3 separate regions of the Homo sapiens genome follow, and all the other regions are linked to region 1. Evidence: promoter capture Hi-C in 16 types of primary human blood cells and fetal thymus (Javierre and others, 2016). All regions are on one chromosome and are shown on one strand. Each heading gives the region's core, a stretch centred on a gene start or on the middle of the fragment in contact. The rest is flanking DNA. Distances are from core to core; before and after follow the strand shown.

Region 1 (3,603 bases), core at 511-3,010:
TCCAACATCAAGTGAGTGCTCTGTAGCACAGTGCCCTTTCATCTGCTAAGTATTAACTTAAGTGATTTTTATTGCAAACCTAGTGGCTTTCTTTCTTGGAGCATCATTCTTCAGATCTGAGCCCAAGCCTTCTGAAAGGCCAATGAGTCTCTGGGTAGTACAGCAATTAGTCTTACAATGCACTATTTTGTAGCAGCCTCCATCTATTCATTTTTCTCAGGTTTTAAAAAGGGTGAAATACACCTAATAGGTAAAATGTGGCAATTTATACTCGGGCTTAATGGCAATCAATGGGGTAATCATTCTAATCATTTTTAAATGCTTTTCAAAAAAATTCAGAAATGGGCCGGGCTTACGCCTGTAATCTCAGCACTTTGGGAGGCCGAGGTGGGTGGATCCACAGGAGTTCGAGACCATCCTGGGTAATATGGTGAAACCTCATCTTTACTAAAAACACAAAAATTAGCCAGGTGTGGTGGCGCACGTAATTTCAGCTACTAGGGAGGCTGAGGTGCTAGAATCGCTTGAGCCCGGGAGGTGGAAGTTGTAGTGAGCCGAGATCACGCCACACTGCACTCCAGCTGGGGCCACAGAGCTGCCTCAAAAAAAAAAAAAATCAAAAGAAAGAAAAAAATTAAAAATTCAGAATTGAATGTTAACACTCAAGATGTAGTAAGAAAAGTTTTTAACTTTTTAAAAATTAAGGAAACTAAAAGCAAGATACAACTGCTCTAGGCAGCCCTACAATGACCTTATAGCTTTTCTTTGATTTCTGGCTCTAAATGGTACTCATAGAAAGACTGATTAAGTTTTGTTTTTCATTCTGGGGTTAGCTGTCTGTTAAAAGGCCTGTTCTAAGCATCCCTCTTCAGCCCTAAGATTTCATAAGTCTTCTAGGAGTTGCTCTCCCAAATACATTGTCTGTATAAACACCAAAAGGTGGATTAAATTACTTTTTTTTTTTTTTTTTAATTGAGACGGAGTCTTGCTCTGTCACCTAGGCTGGAGTGCAGTGGCGCGATCTCAGCTCACTGCCAACTTCTGCCGCCGGGTTCAAGCCATTCTCCTGCCTCAGCCTCCGGAGTATCTGGGATTACAGGCGCGCGCCACCACGCCCAGCTATTTTTTTTAATATATATATTTTTAGTAGAGACAGGGTTTTGCCATGTTGGCCAAGCTGGTCTCGAATTCCTGACCTGGGGTGATCCGCCCGCCTCGGCCTCCCAAAATACTGGGATTACAGGCGTGAGCCAACGCGCCCGGCCAGATTAAATTATACTCTATCCCCAGGTTTTACAAATAGCTCTGGGAGAGACCTGAACCTCACTAGGTGGCAGCTGATTGGAGGTGAGGCAGTGGGGAGGAAATGCCTTCGCCCAGGCTCCGCCCCTGGCCCCACCTATCCTGCCCTGCCAGCCACTCCCATTCTCACCGATTACCGCGCCAACAAAGTGGCTCTTCAAAGCAAAACACAGCGGCAGTTCCTCGTGACCAGCGGCCACGGCCTCCGGGGGCCTAGAGGTGCCTCTCCAGCGACCACCTCTGCCGACACTATATCCCTCAGGACCTGTTCGATTCAACTCCTCCGCCGGCCTCCTCTCTGGCGCTCGGGACACTGTCGAGCTTCGCCGACTAGCAACGACCCACGTAGAGGCCTTGGGAGCTCCTCCGTGGTGGGACATTGTTCCAAGAAGGGGCGCGTCCGACGTCGTTGCCGTCCAGCTCTGCACCACCTGACCGTGACGTCGTAAGAGTAGCGTGCCAGGGAAGCCACGCAGCCGCTACTTAAGGAGCCCGCACGAGGCTAGCCCCCCCGCCCACGCTCTCTATCCCGCCCACTTCGCACTGATTTCACGCAGCCATTGGCCAGTGAGCGTTGTGGGCGGGACTTTCCCAGTTTTAGCCAATCGGTTTTCTGAACCGTGGGAGTGTGCCTTGAAGTAGTCGATGTGCCCCGCCCCCCACCCCCCCACTGTGTATTCCTTTCCAGGCGTGGGACTTTTTCCAAACGCCCAATTTGCTCCCTCCCCTACTGGACACACACCTCGGGTTCCTGGCATCTCAGTGCCTTGGAAACTTTTTTTTTTCTTTTTAAATAGAGACGGGGTGTCGCCGTGTTGCCCAGGCAGGTCTTGAACTCTTGGCTTCTGGCTTCAAGTGATCTTCCAGCCTCGGCCTCCCAAAGTGCTGGGATTACAGTCAGCCACTGCACCGGAAATGTTTTCAACCGTGACCCATAAAGGTAAGTCACTGTTACAAGGTGACCCAATCCACACATAAAAAACTTGAAACAACAGATTGACAAAACAGCATTTATCCTCGCTATGTAAGCTGCATTTTGATACATTTACGCTTATTTTAGTTTTTGAAATGGTTGTAATCCACAAAATTAAAAAAAAAAAATTTAATAGAGATGGGAGTTCCCAGTATGTTGCCCAAGGCTGGTCTTGAACTCCTGGACTCAAGTGATCCTCCCACCTCCACCTCCCATAGTGCTGGGGTTACAGGCCTGAGCCACTGCACTCGGCTCACAAAATGTATTTAATGGCCCACAGCTTAAAGATCACTGACTTGATCCTTTTGTAAGTCATAAGTGTGATTGGGTTTTCATGCTCTTGTGTCAAATGTGCCTCCCTCAAACCTTGTTACGAAGTGGGCACACTACCCACCTGATGTGAAAAATGAAGAGAAAAAGATCACTGGCTTGAGAGACATTCATTGCTCTACACAGTCTTCTGGATGTTTGCTATGTTTTTTTTGTTTGTTTTCTTTTGTTTTGTTTTTGACCTCTGTCGCCTAGGCTGGAGTGCAGTGGTGCGATCACTCACTGCAGATTCGACCTGTTGGACTCAAGTGATACTCCCACCACAGCCTCCCGAATAGTTGGGACTACAGGTGTGCACCACCATGCCAGGCTAATTATTTTGTAAAGACAAGACCTCCCTATGTTGCCCGGGCTGGTATCCAACTCCTCCTGCCTTGGCCTCACACAGTTGAGGGATTACAGGTATGAGCCACAGTGCCTGGCCTGCCATAATTTTAGAGCTAAGGAAATAAATTGAATAGATTCCTGAAGCATTACCGTCACTGCAGCCTGGCTCTGTGGCTGGACATACTACTACTCCAGGGCTTCAAGCCAGCTGCAAGTGCACTCCTTTGATTAGGATCTTTGAATTATCTGAACAAATTTCAGTTTAGGCCAGCAGGGATAACTCATACCTGTAATCTCAACACTTTAGGAGGCCTAGGCGGAGGATCTCTTGAGCCCCAAGGTTCAACATCAGTCTGGGTAACATAGTGAGACCCTGCCGGGTGTGGTGGTACAGGCTGTAGTCCCAGCTACTCAGGAGGCTGAGGTGGGAGGATCACTGAGCCAGGGAGGTTGAGGCTACAGTGAGCCGAAGTGCCGAAATGGTGTCACTGCACTCCAGTCTGGGCAACAGAGCAGAGACCCTGTCTCAAAAAAAAAAAATTTTTTTTTTTTCAGTTCAATCATCCATCAAACACAGTGGACACCAGGCCAGGCATGGTGTGGCTCATGGCTGTAATCCCAGCACCTTGGGAATGTGAGGCAGGCAGATCACTTGAGGTCTGGAGCTCGTG
Region 2 (3,603 bases), core at 670-3,169, 230 kb before region 1:
GGAGTTTGAGACCAGCCTGGCCAATATGGCAAAGCTCCATCTCTAGTAAAAATACAAAAATTAGCCAGGCGTCGTAGCGTGTGCCTGTAGTCCCAGCTACTCGAGAGGCTGAGGCAGAAGAATCACTTGAACCTGGGAGGCGGAGGTTACAGTGAGCCAAGATCATACCACTGCACTCCAGCCTGGGCGACAGAGCAAGACTCTATCTCAAAAAAAAAAAAAATAGAGAAATAAAAATCTTCATTGCACGCTGCAGTTAAATTCAGAAGGACCATCTCATGACTAGCGAGTGCTTTAAGATCATCAGCTACTCCTCTATGTTGAAGATCTCCTTTTAATGAATTATGGAAAGACATTACCACTTCACCCATTGAAGTGTTCTTTCCTATATATCTGCTATTTTTGTTCTTCTTCTTTTCTTTCTTCTTGTTTTTTTGAGACGGAGTTTCGCTCTTGTTCTCTTGTTGCCCAGGCTGGAGTGCAATGGTGCGATCCTGGCTCACTGCAACCTCCGCCTCCTGGGTTCTAGTGATTCTCCTGCCTCAGCCTCCCAAGTAGCTGGGATTACAGGCATGCACCACCACGCCCAGCTAATTTTTTTGTATTTTTAGTGGAGACAGGGTTTCTGCATGTTGGTCAGGCTGGTCTCAAACTCCCAACCTCAGGTGATCTACCAGCTTCGGCCTCCCAAAGTGCTGGGATTACAAGCGTGAGCCACCACACCCGGCTTCTTCTTCTTTTCTTAATTCCAAGGATATCATGGGGTTTTCTTGTTTGGTTGGTTCTGGGTTTGTTTTTTGTTTTTGTTTGTGTGTTGTTTTGTTTTTTGACACAAAGTCTGGTTCTGTTGCCTAGGCTGGAGTGCAGTAGCATGATCTTGGCTCACTGCAGCCTCCCTCTGCCTCCCGGGTTCAAGCCATCCTCCCACCTCAGCCTACCAAGTAGTTGGGACGACAGGTGTGTACCACAAAGCCTGGCTAATTTTTGTATTTTTTGTAGAGACAGGGTTTTGCCATGTTGCCCAGGCTGGTCTTGAACTTGTGAACTCAAGTGATCTGCCTGCCTCAGCCTCCAAAGTGCTGGGATTACAGGCATGAGCCACCATGCCCAGCCTGAAGATAGCATGTTTTGTAACTGTTTTACTTCTCCTTTATGCCTTTTAGGAAGAGTATACAATTTTGCAGCATTGCGAAGCAAATCAAATGGGGACCTTGGTTTGAATATTTAGTTGTCAAATTAAGACAGAAATTAAGAGCATTTTTTACATGTAACTTTGCTAAATCAATTTGCTGTTACTTGCATTTGACAAGAAAAATTTTTTTTAAATGGCATATTAGAATATATTCAAGTATTTGTCGAGTGATCTTACCCTCTATATTTCACACATTTCATGACAAATAATTTTTATAGTTTGTCCTTTTCTGTTTCAACTTATATGGAAAAAAAGTTGATTGAGCTATTATTAGAAATTCGATGATACATTCTGAATACAAGATTCAGGATCTCATTGATTTTTCCTTCACAAATTCCATTATCATTTAAATCTCCAAAGTATATTTGCTTTCAAAATGTTGGCTGAGCAAATGATCTGAGCAATTTTAAATTTTTTTGCCTGTATGTATTTTCCTTTTTGGGGGGTGGGGGTGGGGAGGACAGAGTCTCCCTCTGTTCCCCAAGCTGGAGAGCAGTGGCACTATCTCAGCTCATTGCAACCTCTGCTTCCCGGGTTCAAGCGATTCTCATGCCTCAGCCTCCCGAGTAGCTGGGATTACATGCACGCATCACCATTCCCGGCTAATTGTTTATATTTTTAGTAGAGCCAGGGTTTCACTGTGTTGGCCAAGTTGGTCTCGAACTCCTGGCCTCAAGTGATCCGCCTGCCTTGGCCTCCAAAGTGCTGGGATTACAGGTGTGAGCCACCACGCCCAGCCACGCATATGTATTTTCTTTTATCAGCAGTGGTATTTTAGAATAATGTAGCCCTCTAATAGGAACTTTCAGGACCAGGTGCAGTGACTTATGCCTGTAATCCGATCACTTTGGGAGGCCTAGGTGGAAGGATCACTTGAACCCAGGGGTTAGAGACCTGCCTGGGCAACATAGGGAGACCCCATTTCTACAAAAAATTTAAAAATTACCCGGTGTGGTGGCACATGCCTGTAGTCTCAGCTACTCAGGAGGCTGAGGTGAGAGGATCACTAGAGCCCAGGAGGTTGAGGTTGCAGTAGCCGTGATCGCGCCTCTGCACTCCAGCCTGTGCGACAGAGCGAAACCCTGTCTCAAAAAAAAAAAAAAAAGTGGCAGGCACAGTGGCTCACGCCTGTAATCCCAGCACTTTTGAGGCAGGTGGATCGCCTGAGGTTAGGAGTTCTAGACAAGCCTGGCCAACGTGGTGAAACCCTGTCTCTACTAAAAATACAAAAATTAGCCGGGTGTGGTAGCAGGTGCCTATAATCCCAGCTTCTCAGGAGGCTGAGTCAGGAGAATTGCTCGAACCTGGGAGGCAGAGGCTGCAGTGAGTTGAGATCGTGCCACTGCACTCCAGCCTGGGCAACAGAGTGAGATTCCTTCTCAAAAAAAAAAAAAAATGCTTTCATAATTTTTAATTTTTTGCCAACAATTAGATATGATGAAGCCATCGAGAGTATGTGTTTACATTGCTTGATTGGCAAGATAGTAGTGTGTTAGAAACAATAGCAAGAGAATAATTTCTAGATCCAGAACATCAAAAAAAGCTGTTTTGTACCTTCTTAAGCCCAACCTTGTGTTGTCCAGTATGGTAGCCACTAGCTCCACGTGGCTGTTATATTTTTAATTTAACTAATTTAATTAAAAATTTAGTTTTGGCCAGGCACGGTCGCTCACACCTGTAATCCCAGTACTTTGGGAGGCTGAGGCACGCAGATCACGAGGTCAACAGATAGAGACCATCCTGGCCAACATGGTGAAATCCCATCTCTACTAAAAATACAAAAATTAGCCAGGCATAGTGGCACGCGCCTGTAGTCCCAGCTACTCAGGAAGCTGAGGCAAGAGAATCACTTGAACCTGGGAGGTGGAGGTTGCAGTGAGCCGAGATCACGACACTGCACTCCAGCCTGGCGACAGAGCGAGACTCCGTCTCAAGAAAAAAAAAAAAATTAGTTCTGGCCAGGCGTGGTGGCTCACGCCTGTAATCCCAGCACTTTGGGAGGCCAAAGTGAGTGGATCACCTGAGGTCACGAGTTCAAGACCAGCCTGGTCAACTTAGTGAAACCCCCATCTCTACCAAAATACAAAAATTAGCCAGGCATGACAGTGAGTGCTTATAATCCCAGCTACTCGGGAGGCTGAGGTGGGAGAATCACTTGAACCCAGGAGGCGGAGGTTGTAGTGAGCCGAGATCGCTCCACTGAACTCCAGCCTGGGCAACAGAGCAAGACTCCATCTAAAAATAAAAAAATTTAGTTATTCAGTCACACATATGTCACACATATGACAAGGGTTTTGTTTCACTTCATTTTCTTTCATCAACCTGTTAGAAGGACAAGATTTAATAACCACATGTAACTACTGGTTACCCTGTGGACAATGTGCATATAAAACATTTCCATCATCATGGAA
Region 3 (3,603 bases), core at 470-2,969, 210 kb before region 1:
ACTGATTCAGAATCAGACAAATTGGGTGACATTTTATGGTTTTTCTTCATCTATAAAATGAAGATAATCCAGCTGGGTGCAGTGGCTCTCGCCTGTAATCCCAGGACTTCGGAAGGCCAAGGTGGGAGGATCGTTTGGGCCCAGCAGTTCAAGACCTGCCTGGGCAATATAGCAAGATCGTACCTCTAAAAAACTTAACAAAATTTTAAAATTTTAAAAATAAAATGAAGATAATCCTTCCTCATGGGGTTGATTTTATAATTAAAATGATATAATATGATATATAAAACCCTTATAAACATGTCTGATATCAGGTTTTCCAATACATAGTCAGTAAACAGATACAAGGTTTTCCAATAAATAATATTCCTATTAACATATAAATGTGTACTTGGATTTTATAGGCCTTTACTTCTATAGACTGAAATAGAGATTTTATGTTATCAATGTATTTATTATCTTTTGAGGCAGAGTCACACCCTGTCACCCAGGCTGGAGTACAGCAGCAAGACCACGGCTCACTGCAGTCGCAAGCAATCCTCCTGCAATCCTCCACCTCAGCCTCCTGAGTAGCGAGCGGGTCTACAGCCTGAGCCAACACACCCAGCTAATTTTGTGTGTTTTTTTAGTTTTTGTAGAGAGAGGGTTTCACCATGTTGCCCAGGCTAGTCTCAAACTCCTGGGCTCAAGCAATTCTCCCACCTCAGCCTCCCAAAATGCTGGGATTACAGGCATGCACCACCACACCCGGCCCCAAAATAGAGATTTTTCTATGGTAATTTTGTTGCCCGAATTCATGGGAATTAGATAGATTTTCAGCTATTAATTCCAATAGTACTCCAACAGCACAGAATCCAGACTGAGTCCATACAACTTGTTTTCTTCCAAGTGGTCATCAATCTTTCATGGCCTGTCCTGGCCAAGTGAAATATAAGTACTTGAATGAGCTTCTTGTTGCTGACATTTAGAATTTCATGGCATTCGTCTGCACTTAATATCTGTCACTGGAAAGGCTGGCAACATTGCAGTTGACTCCTCTTACTGCCAAGGTGTTAATGGTTTAAAAAGAAAAAAAAAAAAGAGAGGCTCTGCCAAGCTTGGTTAATTTAGATACACCCCTAAAGGGGATGAGCCAAAAAGATCTGTACTTCATGGTTTTGTTATAGTGCTGTGTGTATGCACAAGTTTTGAACATAAAACTTTGTGATCTTTATACATAACTGAATTAGTTAAGCAGCACTTTTTTTAACTGAACTCCTCCTTCTCCTTTAAGTGTTTTTTTTTTGTTTTTTGTTTTTGTTTTTGTTTTTTACCAAAAACATTAAACCTAAATCTAATGAACCCCCTAGGATCTAGAGTCTAGAAACTATCAGTGTACAGGAAATACAGGAGGTATAAGATTATGTGAAATGATACCTAAGAGATACAATCTTCAAAGTCCAGAATTCATGAATATATACAGGACAAACATCCTAGTAAAGGGACAGCAATTTTAGGCCAGGCGCAGTGGCTCGCTCCTGTAATCCCAGCACTATGGGAGGCTGGGGCAGGTGGATCACCTGAGGTCAGGAGTTTGAGACCAGCCTAACCAACGTGGTGAAACCCCGTTTCTACTAAAAATACAAAATTACCCAGGTATGGTGGTGCATGCCTGTAATCCCAGCTACTCAGGAGGCTGAGGAAGGAGAATCACTTGAACTGGGGAGGTGGAAGTTGTAATGAGCCAAGATCACACCATTGCACTCCAGTCTGGGCAACAAGAGTGAAACTCTGTCTCAAAAAAAAAAAAAAAAAGAGGCAGCAATTTTAAAAATGAATTATCGGGCCAGGTGCAGTGGCTCACGCCTGTAATCCCAGCAATTTGGCAATTTGGGAGGCTGAGGCAGGTGGATCACCTGAGATCAGGAGTTCAAGACCAGCCTGACCTACATGGCATGCGTGTATAGTCCCAGCTACTTGGGAGGCTGAAGCAGAAGAATCACTTGAACCTAGGAGGCGGAGGTTGCAATGAGCTGAGATCGCGCCACTGTACTCCAGCCTGAGCGACAGAGACTCCGTCTCAAAAAAAAAAATGTAATTAATGGAACAAGCAAATTTTATGTTTGATATGATCTCACGTCTATAATAACATACTAGAAATATATACAGACAGAAAAAAATAGGATATTTATGAAAATGTTAATGTTGATCATCTCTATGGGGAAGAATTATAGGTAATTTTACTTCATTATTTTTTTCTTTTTTCGTATTAATTTTCAAAAATTAATTACAATTGAATTTTCAAATCAGGAAAGAAATTTTTTTTAACTTAAAAAACTTTAAGCTAGACATGCTAAGCTTTCTGTATGAAAATGATATCTCAGAACTTTCCTATATCACTATAAAAAGGGGTTATTTCCATGGCTGTGTTCCTGTATGTAATTTTTTTTTTTTTTTTTTTGAGACGGAGTCTCGCTCTGTCGGCCAGGCTGGAGTGCAGTGGCGCGATCTCTGCTCACTGCAAGCTCCGCCTCCCAGGTTCACGCCATTCTCCTGCCTCAGCCTCCCGAGTAGCTGGGACTAGAGGCGCCTGCCATCACGGCCGGCTAATTTTTTTGTATTTTTGGTAGAGACGGGGTTTCACCATGTTAGCCAGCATGGTCTCGATCTCCTGACCTCGTGATCCACCCGCCTCGGCCTCCCAAAGTGCTGGGATTACAAGCGTGAGCCACCGCGCCCAGCCTTCCTCTAATGTTAATGTTTTTTGTTGTTGTTGTTGTTGTTAATTTTTATTTTTTTTATTGATCATTCTTGGGTGTTTCTCACAGAGGGGGATTTGGCAGGGTCATAGGACAATAGTGGAGGGAAGGTCGGCAGATAAACAAGTGAACAAAGGTCTCTGGTTTTCCTAGGCAGAGGACCCTGCGGCGTTCCGCAGTGTTTGTGTCCCTGGGTACTTGAGATTAGGGAGTGGTGATGATTCTTAACGAGCATGCTGCCTTCAAGCATCTGTTTAACAAAGCACATCTTGCACCGCCCTTAATCCATTTAACCCTGAGTGGACACAGCACATGTTTCAGAGAGCACAGGGTTGGGGGTAAGGTCACCGATCAACAGGATCCCAAGGCAGAAGAATGTATCTTAGTACAGAACAAAATGAAAAGTCTCCCATGTCTACTTCTTTCTACACAGACACGGCAACCATCCGATTTCTCAATCTTTTCCCCACCTTTCCCCCCTTTCTATTCCACAAAACCGCCATTGTCATCCCAGCCCGTTCTCAATGAGCTGTTGGGTACACCTCCCAGACGGGGTGGTGGCCGGGCAGAGGGGCTCCTCACTTCCCAGTAGGGGCGGCCGGGCAGAGGCGCCCCTCACCTCCCGGACGGGGCGGCTGGCCGGGCAGGGGGCTGACCCCCCCACCTCCCTCCCGGACGGAGCGGCTGGCCGGGCAGAGGGGCTCCTCACTTCTCAGTAGGGGCGGCTGGGCAGAGGCGCCCCTCACCTCCCGGACGGGGCGGCTGGCCGGGCGGGGGGCTGACCACCCCACCTCCCTCCTGGACGGGGCATCTGGCTGGGCGGGGGGCTGACCCCCCCCCACCTCCCTCCCGGACGGGGCGGCTG

Evidence for each region. Contacts are between HindIII fragments. The CHiCAGO score rates a contact against its expected background, and 5 or more counts as called.
Region 2: a contact is called between a fragment that was not itself captured here and the fragment with the promoter of DDX43 in region 1, in 7 of 17 cell types (naive CD8 T cells, non-activated CD4 T cells, total CD4 T cells and 4 more). The highest score is 7.4, in naive CD8 T cells.
Region 3: a fragment that was not itself captured here is called in contact with the fragment with the promoter of DDX43 in region 1 in 2 of 17 cell types (activated CD4 T cells and naive CD8 T cells); the score reaches 6.9 in activated CD4 T cells.

The regions. Positions count from the first base shown.
Region 1 is chr6:73,392,985-73,396,587 of GRCh38, reverse strand. DDX43 (DEAD-box helicase 43) reads right to left here and starts at 1,760. Exons shown (of 17, transcript NM_018665.3): 1 at 1,433-1,760. The coding sequence starts at 1,682. LOC124901538 (small nucleolar RNA U13) reads left to right here and starts at 2,575; the gene lies at 2,575-2,675. It also overlaps a transcript of OOEP not described here. RefSeq lists an enhancer at 1,643-2,143. The HindIII fragment of the contact is 12,904 bases long and covers 1-3,603 here.
Region 2 is chr6:73,626,617-73,630,219 of GRCh38, reverse strand. All of the region lies in intron 6 of SLC17A5 (solute carrier family 17 member 5), which reads left to right. Among named protein-coding and RNA genes, the nearest start is that of SLC17A5, 26 kb to the left of the region's middle. The HindIII fragment of the contact is 6,706 bases long and covers 1-3,603 here.
Region 3 is chr6:73,601,612-73,605,214 of GRCh38, reverse strand. All of the region lies in intron 9 of SLC17A5 (solute carrier family 17 member 5), which reads left to right. Among named protein-coding and RNA genes, the nearest start is that of SLC17A5, 51 kb to the left of the region's middle. The HindIII fragment of the contact is 1,241 bases long and covers 1,099-2,339 here.